Regions from separate parts of the Homo sapiens genome. Here region 1 is linked to region 2. Evidence: promoter capture Hi-C in human tissues and cell types (Jung and others, 2019). All regions are on one chromosome and are shown on one strand. Each heading gives the region's core, a stretch centred on a gene start or on the middle of the fragment in contact. The rest is flanking DNA. Distances are from core to core; before and after follow the strand shown.

Region 1 (5,834 bases), core at 551-3,050, 220 kb after region 2:
ACCATGATGGTCAGACTGGTCTCAAACTCCCGATCTCAGGAGATCCGCCTGCCTCGGCCTCCCAAAGTGCTGGGATTACAGACTTGAGCCACCTTTTCAGTCGAGTTTTTAAAACTCAAACTAATATCCATCCACATGCCGTGGCCTCTGGCTCTGGCCCCAGGTTCAGCACAGCTCAACATCTCCTGCACCTTTCTTGAGTTTCACACCATGAGGGGCTCTGGCGACCCTCTGCTCACACACCTTCAGCCTACATCGCAGGGCTTTTGCAGACCAAGATTAAAACCCCTGTACGAGATCTCCACATTCCATTCCAAGTTCAAAATTCTACAGTTTTGTATTTTTAAGAAGCTTTCCTCCCTATGCTGATGAAGGGCTTAGTACTTAACAACAGCCTGTTAGAGGGGCCTGTTTTGGCAAGGCGCTGAATGGTATCTCACCTAATCCCCTCAACAACCAACAAAGGAGAGACTCTCACATGAGGCCACTGAGGCTCAGAGAGGTTCGGCGTTCACCTACGGTCACTGGTCTGGAACAGGACCAGGTCTGTGTGACCGACCGCAGGCTTTACATTACCCAGGGCAGGCCAGACGTGGTGGATCATGCCTGTGATCCCGTGTTAATTCCCATCTTGGGAGGCCAAGATGGGAAGACTGCTCAAGGCCAGGAGTTTGAGACCAGCCTGGTCAACACAGTGAGACCCCCATCTCTATTTCTTACAATTAAATGATATTTTTGAAATAAATAAATAAAACTACCCCAGGCAGAGTCCCAGGCCCTGACTCGGCAGGTCTGGAGTTGGGCCTGAAATCACATTTTAAATAAACAACTTGGCTGGGCACGGTGGCTCACGCCTGTAATCCCAGCACTTTGAGAGGCTAAGATGGGCGGATCACTTGGTAAAACTCTGTCTCTACTAAAAATACAAAAATTAGCCCAGCGTGGTGGCAGGTGCCTGTAATCCCAGCTACTCATGAGGCTGAGGCAGGAGAATCGCGTGAACCTGGGAGGCGGATGTTGCAACGAGCTGAGATCGCACCACTGCGCTCCAGCCTGGGCGACAGAGTGAGACTCCGCCTCAAAAAATAAATAAACACCTACAATTCTATAGCCAGTGGACAAGGTCCCCTGGCCCAGGCCCATCCTCTGGCATCCTCTGGGGGCAGGAGGCAGGGCTGGTATCCTGGGCCCACAGGCATCTGGCTGGGGATGGAGGGGACGGGGACTCACCATCTGGTCGGCCAAGAGCAGCACCGTCTTGAGGCTGAATTTGCGGGAACAGAAGTTGAACAGGTCCTCGAGGCTAGGCCCCAGCAGCTCCATGACCATCACGTTGTAGTCGCCCTCAGCTCCGCACCACTTGATGGACGGGATCCCCACTGGGGGTCAAGCAGAGGGCCTCTGTCAGGGGTCAGAGGCAGGCAGCCAGCCACGCCCGGCCCACCCTGTGCTCATGGCTGCCCACCGCCACCCACCCGGCGCCCGCCGCCGCCCACCCTGCGCTCACCGCCACCCTGCATCATCTTGTAGAACTTGCTCTCGATGTGCAGCTGGGGGTGCTTTGTCTTCACACACTCCAGCTTGATGGCGACTTCCTCACCAGAGGCGATGTTGGCACCTGCCCGGGGCAGGGAGGCAAGGGACCAGGGTCACCCTCAAAGGCCAGGCAGTCCCAGGCGCCCCACTAAGCATTTCTGAGATCTGGCGTGTGCCGGGCCCGGGGCCATCTGCCCTTGAGGAGCTCTTGGGGGAGGCTGGGAAGGGGGCAAAGGAGCCCCGGCAAAGGGTTCCTGAGGGGAAAGAAGGTCAGCGCTGTGAGGGACAGAGGTGACACACAAGGGCTACCCAGGGCCACAGGTTGGGGCGACAAGAAGGCCCGATGTGAGTGGGGCAAGGGTCAGGTATGCAAAAGGCTCACAGACCACCTAAGGGAGGGGGCTGAGTCCTAGAGCAAATTCAGGCAGTGAGGTCTGTCGGGTTGAGATGGTGGCACGTGCAGAAGAGGCCCAATGGGGCTGGGCTGCCGAACACACCAGAACAAGCCAGGACCACCCTGGCCTACAGGATGAGGATGGGACAGCCGCAGCAACCCCTCAGTCAATGCTGATGCCTTCAGAGGCAGCCCTGCACATTCTAATCCAGTGTCTCATTCGATTCTCAACCCCCTTGTAGAGATGAGAAAACAGAGACCCAGCTAGAGACCCAGCTCAAGGTCACCTGACCTGTAAATGGCGGCCTTGAGATCAACCCCGGCTCTGCTGGCCTCCAGCATAGGTCAGAGGTCCTGCCTGCACCTCCCCGTCTCCCCCAGTCCACTCCTGGCTTCTCAAGGGGCTCTAAGAAAATACCCTCACACACACCAAGGCCCCGCTCTCTGCCTGGGCCCACTGCCCAACTCAAGAAGTCACAAGAAAGACCAAGCCCAAAGTGTACCTTGCCTCAGTTTCCCTGGCTGTATGGGTGGATGAGATGAAGGGCTGGGGCTAGGCTGGGCGACAGGGTGTCTCCTTCCTGGGGCCAGCAGCGAGCCCAGCAGGAGGAGTAGGACAGTGTCGCAACAGGACACAAACAGGCCAGAACAACCCCCAGGGACACAGCCTCAGGAGGAGTTCAAGACAGGAGAAAGGCAGGACCTCACATCAGAGGAAAAGATGAGACTGTTCATTAATAATGTCCCTGAACAACCGGCTGGCCACCTGAGAAAAGACACCATGGCTCACACCACAACCAGGAGAAATCTCAAGTAGAGGAAAAGTTTGTATATAAGAAATAAAGGTGTGGGTGTGAGTTGGCACAGCCCCTGTGCACCTCTTGGGTGAAGCTGAACATAAACAAACGCTCGCCCAAGCAACCCCACTCCTGAGTGTACATCCTTCAGAAACACGTGTGCACCAGGGGGACAGGACAAGGATGGACACAGGAGCAAACAGCCCAAGTGCTCAGCAGCAGAAGAACAGGAACAGTGGCGCAGTCACCAGGGAATCCCAGGCGGCAGTGAAGAGGAAAGGATGCCTGCTTCACACAATGACCCTGGTCCCAGGGGTGCACTCCTCACAGCAGCCAGAGGGTGGAAACAACAAACATCTGTCACAGATGCAAGGATGAATGGAATGCAGTGCCTCCATGCGGCGGAATATTATTCAGCAATAAAGAGGAATAAAGTACCGATACACGCTACGACACGAGTGCACCTTGAAAACATTCTACCCGAGGCCAGGCACAGTGGCTCACGCCCGTAATCCCAATACTTTGGGAGGCTGAGGCGGGTGGATCACAAGGTCAGGAGTCCGAGACCAGCCCAGCCAAGGTGGTGAAACCCTGTCTGTACCAAAAATACAAAAATTAGCCGGGCGCAGTGGCAGGCATCTGTAATCCCAGCTACTTGGGAGGCTGAGGCAGGAGAATCACTTGAACCCAGGAGGCGGAGGTTGCAGTGAGCCGAGATTGTGCCATTGCACGCTAGCCTGGGTGACGGAGTGAAACTCCAGCTCAAAAAAAAAAAAAAAAAAAAAAAAAAGAAGAGTGCAAGCACAGTTCTACTTGTTTCCATATCAAAACAGGCAACAAGACTGGACAATACAGATTTAAACACGAAAGAAAGGAAAAAGATTAAATGTCAGACGGTGGTTCCCAGGGAGGGACACCTTAGGCCATGCAGGTATTCTATACGTATTCTTTGCATCCACTCAACGTTTAATAAGAAATAACAATGAAATGTTAGAAGAAGGGAGAATTGCCTTATAGCCTTGGGGTTAGGCAAAGCTTTTATTTTTATCCCTGATTCAAAATCCTAAAGCCATTTAAAAAAAAAAAAAAAAAGCTCCTTCCTCTCCAAAAAAAAAAGAATCCCTTCTGCATGGCAAAAACACCGGAAATAAAGTCCTAAGAGACATACTCACTTGCAATTCTTATCACAGGCAAAGAGCTAATATGTAATGAGCTCCTACAAATCAGTCAGAAAAAGACTCAGCAGAAAATAGGCCAAAGGATTTGAAACACACACTTCACAGAGAAAGAAATCATTAATAGAAAAGCCTTACTCATAGGGAAAGATGCCCAACCTCCTTGTAAGAGAAATGCAAATTAATATGATCGTGAAAGACCATGTTTCACCTAGGATTGTCAAAAGTCTTACGAGATAACACACCTGTCTGTCGGCAAGACTGTGGGGGCGCTGAGCACTCCTCCCAGGTGGTGGAGGCGTCAACTGCTGAGTCGCCACTGGAGGGGGATTTGACGCTACTCAGCCCTGACCAGCAACCCCGCTTCTGGGAGTTTACCTGACATCCTAGCACGGTGCAAAACAAGGCGGGGACAAGGCTGTCGGCTGCAGGCTGTTTGGAACAGCAGAAGCTTGGAAACAACCCAAATGTCCCTCCTGAGGGGGCTGATTAAATAAAGAATAGCCCATCCATAAAACAGAATACAATGGAAAAAGAACCAGGAAGCTCTCTCTGCACACAAGTGGAAAGATCTCCAAGATACAGGAAGTGAAAAAGCAAAGCACAGAACAGTGTATATTCCACACTCTCATTTCAGTTTTCTTTAAAAAGGTGGGGAACTAAGTATCTGTGTTTGGCTCTAGCTACATAAAGAAACACTGAACAGAAACATGACTGTACAGGGCTAAGTGGGTCAGGGAGGAAGGGGTGGGGGACGCTTCACTGGATACTGTGTTATAAGTTGCAATTTCTTTCAACACCTTTATTGAGATGTAATTCAGATAACTCTCCAATTGAGTCACTCAAAGTGTGCGACTCACCGTTTTTAGTATATTCACAAGCTTGCGCAGCCATTACCACAATCAATTTTAGAACACAGGCCGGGCGCGGTGGCTCACGCCTGTAATCCCAGCACTTTGAGAGGCCGAGGCAGGCGGATCACAAGGTCAAGAGATCAAGACCATCCTGGCCAACATGGTGAAACCCCATCTCCATTAAAAGTACAAAAATTAGCTGGGCGTAGTGGCGCACGCCTGTAATCCCAGCTACTCGGCAGGCTGAGGCAGGAGAATTGCTTGAACCCAGGAGGCAGAGGTTGCAGTGAGCCGAGATTGTGCCACTGCACTCCAGCCTGGCGACAGAGCAAGACTCCATCTCAAAAAAAAAAAAAAAAAAATTAAAAATTAGAACACAGCATCTTCTTATCAGCTGATACCTTCGTATCAGCATCTGCTGTGGGTTCCGCATCTGCCGATTCAACCATGGATCAAAAATACGTGGGGGGAGAAAATAAAAAATAACAACACAACAATAAGAAATAGGTTGGGTGCAGTGATGCACAACTGTAGTACTACCACTTTGGGAGGCTGAGGAGGATTACTTGAGTCCAGCGGTTCGAGACCAGCCTAAGCAACATAGTGAGACCCTATCTCTACAAAAAATACAAATATTAGCCAGGCGTGGTAGCACGTGCCTGTGGTCCCAGCTACCTGGGAGGCTGAGGCAGGAGGACTGCTTGAACCTAGTAAGTCAAGGTTGCGGTGAGCTATGATCACACCACCACACTCCAGCCTGGGTGACAGAGCAAGACCATGTCTCAAAAATAAATAGGTAAATAATATAAAAATTAAAAATACAGTACAATAACTATTTACATAGCATTTACATTGTATTAGGTATTATAAGTGATCTAGAGATGATTTAAAGTATATGGAGAAGGCCAGGTGCCAGCATTTTGGGAGGCTGAGGCAGGCGGATCACCAGGCAAGGAGTTCCAGACCAGCCTGACCACCATGATGAAACCCCATCTCTACTAAAAATACAAAAATTAGCCAAGGTGCTCCCGTGGGAGCGCCTGTAATCCCAGCTCTCAGGAGGCTGAGGTAGGAGAAT
Region 2 (5,519 bases), core at 2,472-4,971:
GGGCATTTAGCAGCAGGTACACTGAGGCTCTCATTCTGGGGCTGCAACTTGCGCTAAGGCTTTGTGCCTCAGTTTCCTCATCTGCAAAATGAGAATAAGCACCTGCGCTCCAGATGGCCTTGTGCCAACTGCTTGGGATGGCAGATCTGGCCAGCTACCAGTGTTGCTTTCTTCCCTGCACCTTCCTGGGCTTTTCTGTCCTCACCCAGAGCGGGCGGTCCGGCTTGGAGGAGGGACTAACTGGCCGTGAAGGGGAGTCCACCCACCCGACTGCCCCTTCCCCTCATCCCTGGAAGTTCCATCTGAGACAGGGGGATGGAGCTTCCCTGGGTCTAAGGGGCACTAGGCTCGCCACCCCCTCTTCCTTCGGGGCGCACCGGCAGAGGGCGGTCCGATGAGCACAGCCGCGGCCTCCACGAGCAACACCAGGCCCAGCGCACTGGGGAAGCGGGGCGCGCCCACAGCCGCCATGAGCACCTCGAACTGCAGCGCGCCCACCATGCCGTAGGAGAGGCCGAAGGCGACGCAGAAGGCGACGAGGGCGCCGTAGGAGCGCGCGCGTGCGCTGCTCAGGTCTGTGAGCCCATTGGCCAGCAGGGCCAGGCTGAACAGATACGGGACGTGCGGCCGCAGACGCGCCAGGCCCGCCAGGGCGCCGCACGCCGGGCGCGCCACGATGTCCACGAAGCCCACGATGGACAGCAGGAAGGCGGCGTCGGTGTCGGGCACGCCCGCGTCCTTGGCGTAGTTCACCAGCAGGATGGCGGGGACGAAGAGCCCGAGCGCCATCAGGAACTTGGTGACGGCGTACACGGCGAAGGCGCGGTCGGTGCACACTGCCAAGTCCAGCAGGCGCCGGCGGGGCCGGACCCTGGGGGATGCCTCGCGCAGCTGCAGCCCCGCACCGTCAGCCTCCGCCTCGCCCGGAGCGTCCCCGGCGCGGTCGCCGGCGCTGTCCCTGCGCGGTCGCGGGCCCGGCCCGGGCGGCGGCCTCATGACAGCCCCGCAGGCGCAGCAGTGCAGCAGGAGCCCGCCGAGCAGCAGGAAGCCGCCGCGCCAGCCGAAGCGCTCCAGCAGCTGCTGGCCGAGCGGCGACAGCGCGGACAGGAACACGGGGCTGCCCGCCGCCGCCAGCCCGTTGGCCAGAGGCCGCCGCCGCTCGAAGTACAGCCCCAGCATGATGAGCGACGGCTGGAAGTTGAGGGCCAGGCCCAGGCCTGCGGGCGAGGCGGTGCTGTGCCGGGGTCCCCGGAGAGCCCCTCCCTGGCCCCCACAGGAGGGAGGGGCCAGGCCCGGGAACCCAGCAGATCCGGGAACCCAGCCGAGGGACTTCGAAGACTGTCCCTCATAGGGAAACCGAGGACAGATCTTGCAGCAAGAACCCCCGACCCCCAACCCAGCGGAGAGGAGACCAGGGGGCCCTCACCTGTGAGCACCCCAGCGGTCAGGTAGAGCTCCAGGAGGCGCGTGGCAAAGGAAGCTAGGATCATGCCCGCGGAAGCCAGCAGCCCACCCGCCAGCATCACCGGGCGACAGCCAAAGCGGGTCACGAGGATGCTGGACACGGGGCCTGTGGGCAGGGCAGGGTCACCACCCGGGTCCCGGGATGGCTTGAGTCCTCTAAGGAATAAGGTCACCTCCGGCTCAGGGACACAGAGAGGAGGGCAGTGTCTGGCCAAGGTCACACAGCTTGGAGGGGACAGGCCAAAGAGACAGCATCCTGCGAGGGCAAGGCCCAGAGCACCCCATCCTGCGAACCCAAACCCCAAGCGGAGCGGGGGCTTCCGCACCCCTTTAACCTTCACAGCCTCCAAGTCCCGCCCTGGCACAGACTGGGATTCCTCCGCAGCCCCGCCTCCCAGGATGGGAACTCCAGCAAGCCCCCACCTACAGGTCAGGGCTGCGGGGAGGGGGAGTGCTTCTGTGGCTCTCAGCTTTCCTGCCTCTACAATGGGCGGGTGTGGTCTTAGAAGGGGCCCTCTGAGCTCGCAGGGCAGCCCCCTGGGCCGGCCCCGCCTCTGGCCGCTGTCTCCCTCCCGCCCTCTCTTCCCCTCTTTCTGGTGCCAGGGTTCCCACAGGCAGGAAGGGACTTCGGGGGCCACCCCGAGGGTCAGGGGGATGCTCAGGGGCTCGGGTGTCTCCTGGTTCCGGATCCCAGGGGTCCCGGGGAGGCGGAGGGCCGGGCGGGGACACTGACCCGTGCCGTAGAGCATGGCTAGCATGATGGAGGACACCCAGGCCGTGTCGCTGTAGCCGGCGTCGAAGTCGCGCATGAGCGCGCGGAAGAAGACGCTCACGGCTTTGGGGAAGCCGTAGGCGAAGCCGGTGACCACAAAGCAGGCGCCCAGCACCACCCAGCCCCAGCCGCCGTCTGGGGGGCCCTCGCCCCGCCGGGGGCCGCCAGCGCCCATCGCTGCCTCTGTTGGGAGGGGGCGGGGACAAGAGGGAGGGGCTGGGCCAGCAGCCTAGAGAAGGAGGGGGATGGAGACGAAGCATGGGGAAACTGAGGCACAGGGCTACCCACGTGAGGGTGGCTCAGGTCTGGGAACCAAAAGGGGAAACGGAGGTAGGACTCTCACCCCAAGTCTCCTTCTCCTGCAAAGGGCGCTGAAGGACGAGGGGAGGACGACGGGTCCCACCTGACTCTGCACCTCTGCAGGCTCCCTCTGAAGGACAACTGCTGGCCCCTCAGGGCCTCAGGTGGAAGGCGTCGGGAAGTGGAGCAGGTATGTGCCTGGAGGTGGGCGTCCAGCACCAAAGTCGCCCCGTACGCGTGAGGGTCTCGGGACAACAGAACAAACAGCAGAGGGGCAGATGCCGGCTGCAAAGGGCCGCTGTGCGTGATTTTCCTCTTTAGCCTTCCGCCATGTTCCTAATGTTTCTCAGTGATCACAAATGACTATTGTCATTAGAACATTAAGGGGACAAAAGCCACTTTCAACAGATATCAGCCAGGGGAGCTGAGTTCCCATGCATCTCAGCTCAGCCATGGATTCCCTCCCTGACTTGGGCCGGTCGCCTCCCCTCTCCCAACCTCCCTTTCCTCCGATGTAAGATGGGTGATTGATCACCCCGAGGCCAGCTGGGAATCTTGCGGGAGAGGAGTCAGGTCTCTGGCTTCTGCCAGACAGGTAGGAACCTTAGCAGCACTGAGAGAGTGGCCTTCTGCCCTCCAAACCTCAAACCCTCTATATGAAAAGAATGGCTCCAAAGCCTGTCTCATTCCTGGGGCTCCACCCGGGGCCCTCACAGCAGTTACAAGCGCCCCCATAACAGATGAGGAGGGTGTACTCAGAGACAGGTGCACCAGGAGCCGGGGGCTGGGGATAGCCTCCTGCCCTCCTGCCTGGAGTGTCCCTCCTGGCACTGGGCAGTGCCACCACCCCCAGGGTATCCGGGACTCTGCCCCTCCTCCACTAGGACCAGGTTGTGGCTTTTCCTGCCTGTTGTCCTCTTGTCACAGGGGCAGCCACTTGAAGGTGGAGACAGGAGGGTGATCCCAGGCAGCCCTCACATCACACTCACCTGAGCCTGCCTCGTGGGTTTGGGGGTCCAGCCTCACATCTCCTGAGGCCTGCAGGGAGGGGCCGCCGCCGCAGCTCCCGGTGAAGCTTACCCGGATGGGGGCTGCCAGACACCCCAGCTTCCCACCAGCCTGGGCTGAGCCTCTGGCCGACTCCCGCCTGACGCTCCCTGCCCCAGGCCTGGAGCTTAGAGTGTGTGCCCCCACCACACCTCACCCCTGCTAAGAGGCTTTTGTCCAGGAGGGGAGAAGAGACTGGGAGCCCCAGGCCAGGCTGGGCCTCGGCGGTGGGCTCCCTGTCCCAAGCCAGTCCAGGAGGGAGGAAGAGAATCCCTGTGCCTCCTGGAGCCTGGGGTGGTAGACACAGAGACCTTGCCCAGGGGGTCCTAGTCTGGTGCTGGGGGCACAGCCCTGCCCTGAAGAGACCCCAACGGTTCTAATCACCTCAGTGCCTCATCTGCCCCCGCCCCAACCCCCCGCCCCAGGCCACATTCCAGGAGGGGCTGGCAGCTTTCTCTAGAATGAAGCTAATCCACGCCTGTGCCTGGGAATGTGGGGGGGGGAGGGGCCAAAACAAAGGGTGCTGTGTCCAGGCCGCCTGAGGGCAGCTTGCTGGTGGTCCCAGCCCTTGGCCACTGCCACCTCTCCCCTGACCCGAGCAGCCGCTACTTCCTAGGAAACCCACAGGTCGAAATGAGAGCAGGTGGAGATGGGGGCTGCAGCGCGAGGGCTTTGGGGCAGCCCTAAAGAGTTCTCCAAACAAACAAACAAGGGGCTGGGAGTGAGATGGCTTCCCGGGGAACAGCCAGGACCTCAGTACCCCCTAGACCCCATTCTCCAATGGGGGAGTCTCTATCCCTCACCCCCTGCCCTGTCCCCCAAATAAGACACCACCAGTCCTGCTGCCGCATCACTTTGCGTCCACTTCCTTTATTTCTCATCATTTACAAAAGATGTACAGAGAGGGCATGTGTTGGGCACGGAGCAGGTACAAGGGGCTCCTCCCCACGGGGGCAGAAAAGGGGGAAAGAGGTTAGGGGGCAAGAGGTGGGCCCCCCAGGGAGAGTCCTGGAGCCCCTGGAGGGGGAGAAATTGTCCTGTCCCCCCATTCCGCCTGCTTTACTTTGAAGGTCTCGGACCCCAAGCCAGTGCTTTGGAGCTGCTCAGGCTGCCGGGGTGGTCTGGGGAGGGCAGCCACCCCCCGTCTCAGGGACCCGCTTCTTGGATCTGCTGCTGTTGCTGCTGTCGCTGCCATTGCCAGCTCTGAACAGCCCCTGGGCAGGTGCACTGTGGGGTACGACCTCGGACCCCGCCTCAGCGGATGAGGGGTGCTGAGCGGTCATTGGTGATGGTGGGACGAAGCTTGACAGTGGCAAAAGGATTTGTGCCCCTGTAGGAGGAGAGAGAGAATGGGGTGAGAAGGGCAGATGATCCCCACCTGGCCATGGCTCAGGAAGGCAGCTGGGCAACTGAGCTGGGTCCTGCCTCCTGCCCCTATTTGGTCTCCATCCACTCCTTGCCCCGCTTCATCTTTTTTTTTCTTTTAAGAGATAGGGTCTCACAGTGTTGCTCAAGCTGATGTTGAACTGTTGGAATCAAGAGATCCTCCTGCCCCAGTCTCCCTAGTAGCTGGGACTACAAGTGTGTGCCGCCGCACCTGCCACCCTCCTCACTGTTTGGGCCCCCATGTGAGGACTCACCTCGGGAAGAGCTCCTGTGGTGGGTACTGCTCTGAGGACATCAGTTTCTGCAGTGGGGGTGGGGAAGGGCTGGTTTGGTGGGGAGAGGGGCAAGCAATCCCTTGCTCCTCCCCTCCCTCTCCCCATGCCCAAGGGCAGAGGACTGGGCCAGAGAGCCCCTGCCATGCCAGGCTCCTGGAAAATGAGACCCTGACGTTCTGAAGCCCAGAATTCTGTGGGTTGCAGAAGTGAGAAACCCCTAGGCCAGAGCACCACCTCCAAGGACTAACCACGCCCCCAGGATAAGACCGGGGTGG

The links. Contacts are between HindIII fragments. The study calls those that stand out against the background at their distance.
Region 1: a contact is called between a fragment that was not itself captured here and the fragment with the promoter of SLC16A8 in region 2, in 4 of the 25 tissues and cell types used here (IMR-90 fibroblasts, aorta, dorsolateral prefrontal cortex and 1 more).

What each region holds. Positions count from the first base shown.
Region 1 is chr22:38,301,631-38,307,464 of GRCh38, forward strand. TPTEP2-CSNK1E (TPTEP2-CSNK1E readthrough) reads right to left here. Exons shown (of 15, transcript NM_001289912.2): 7 at 1,508-1,618; 8 at 1,231-1,379. CSNK1E (casein kinase 1 epsilon) reads right to left here. Exons shown (of 11, transcript NM_152221.3): 3 at 1,508-1,618; 4 at 1,231-1,379. Among named protein-coding and RNA genes, the nearest start is that of CSNK1E, 13 kb to the right of the region's middle. RefSeq lists enhancers at 4,103-4,152, 4,253-4,502. The HindIII fragment of the contact is 4,513 bases long and covers 1-4,057 here.
Region 2 is chr22:38,080,463-38,085,981 of GRCh38, forward strand. It overlaps SLC16A8 (solute carrier family 16 member 8), which reads right to left and starts at 3,722. Exons shown (of 6, transcript NM_013356.3): 1 at 3,526-3,722; 2 at 2,580-2,899; 3 at 2,198-2,419; 4 at 1,427-1,570; 5 at 378-1,217. The coding sequence starts at 2,411. It overlaps BAIAP2L2 (BAR/IMD domain containing adaptor protein 2 like 2), which reads right to left. Exons shown (of 14, transcript NM_025045.6): 13 at 5,224-5,270; 14 at 4,438-4,913. The coding sequence ends at 4,838. RefSeq lists enhancers at 84-865, 3,206-3,987 and a silencer at 2,181-2,230. The HindIII fragment of the contact is 9,296 bases long and covers 1-5,519 here.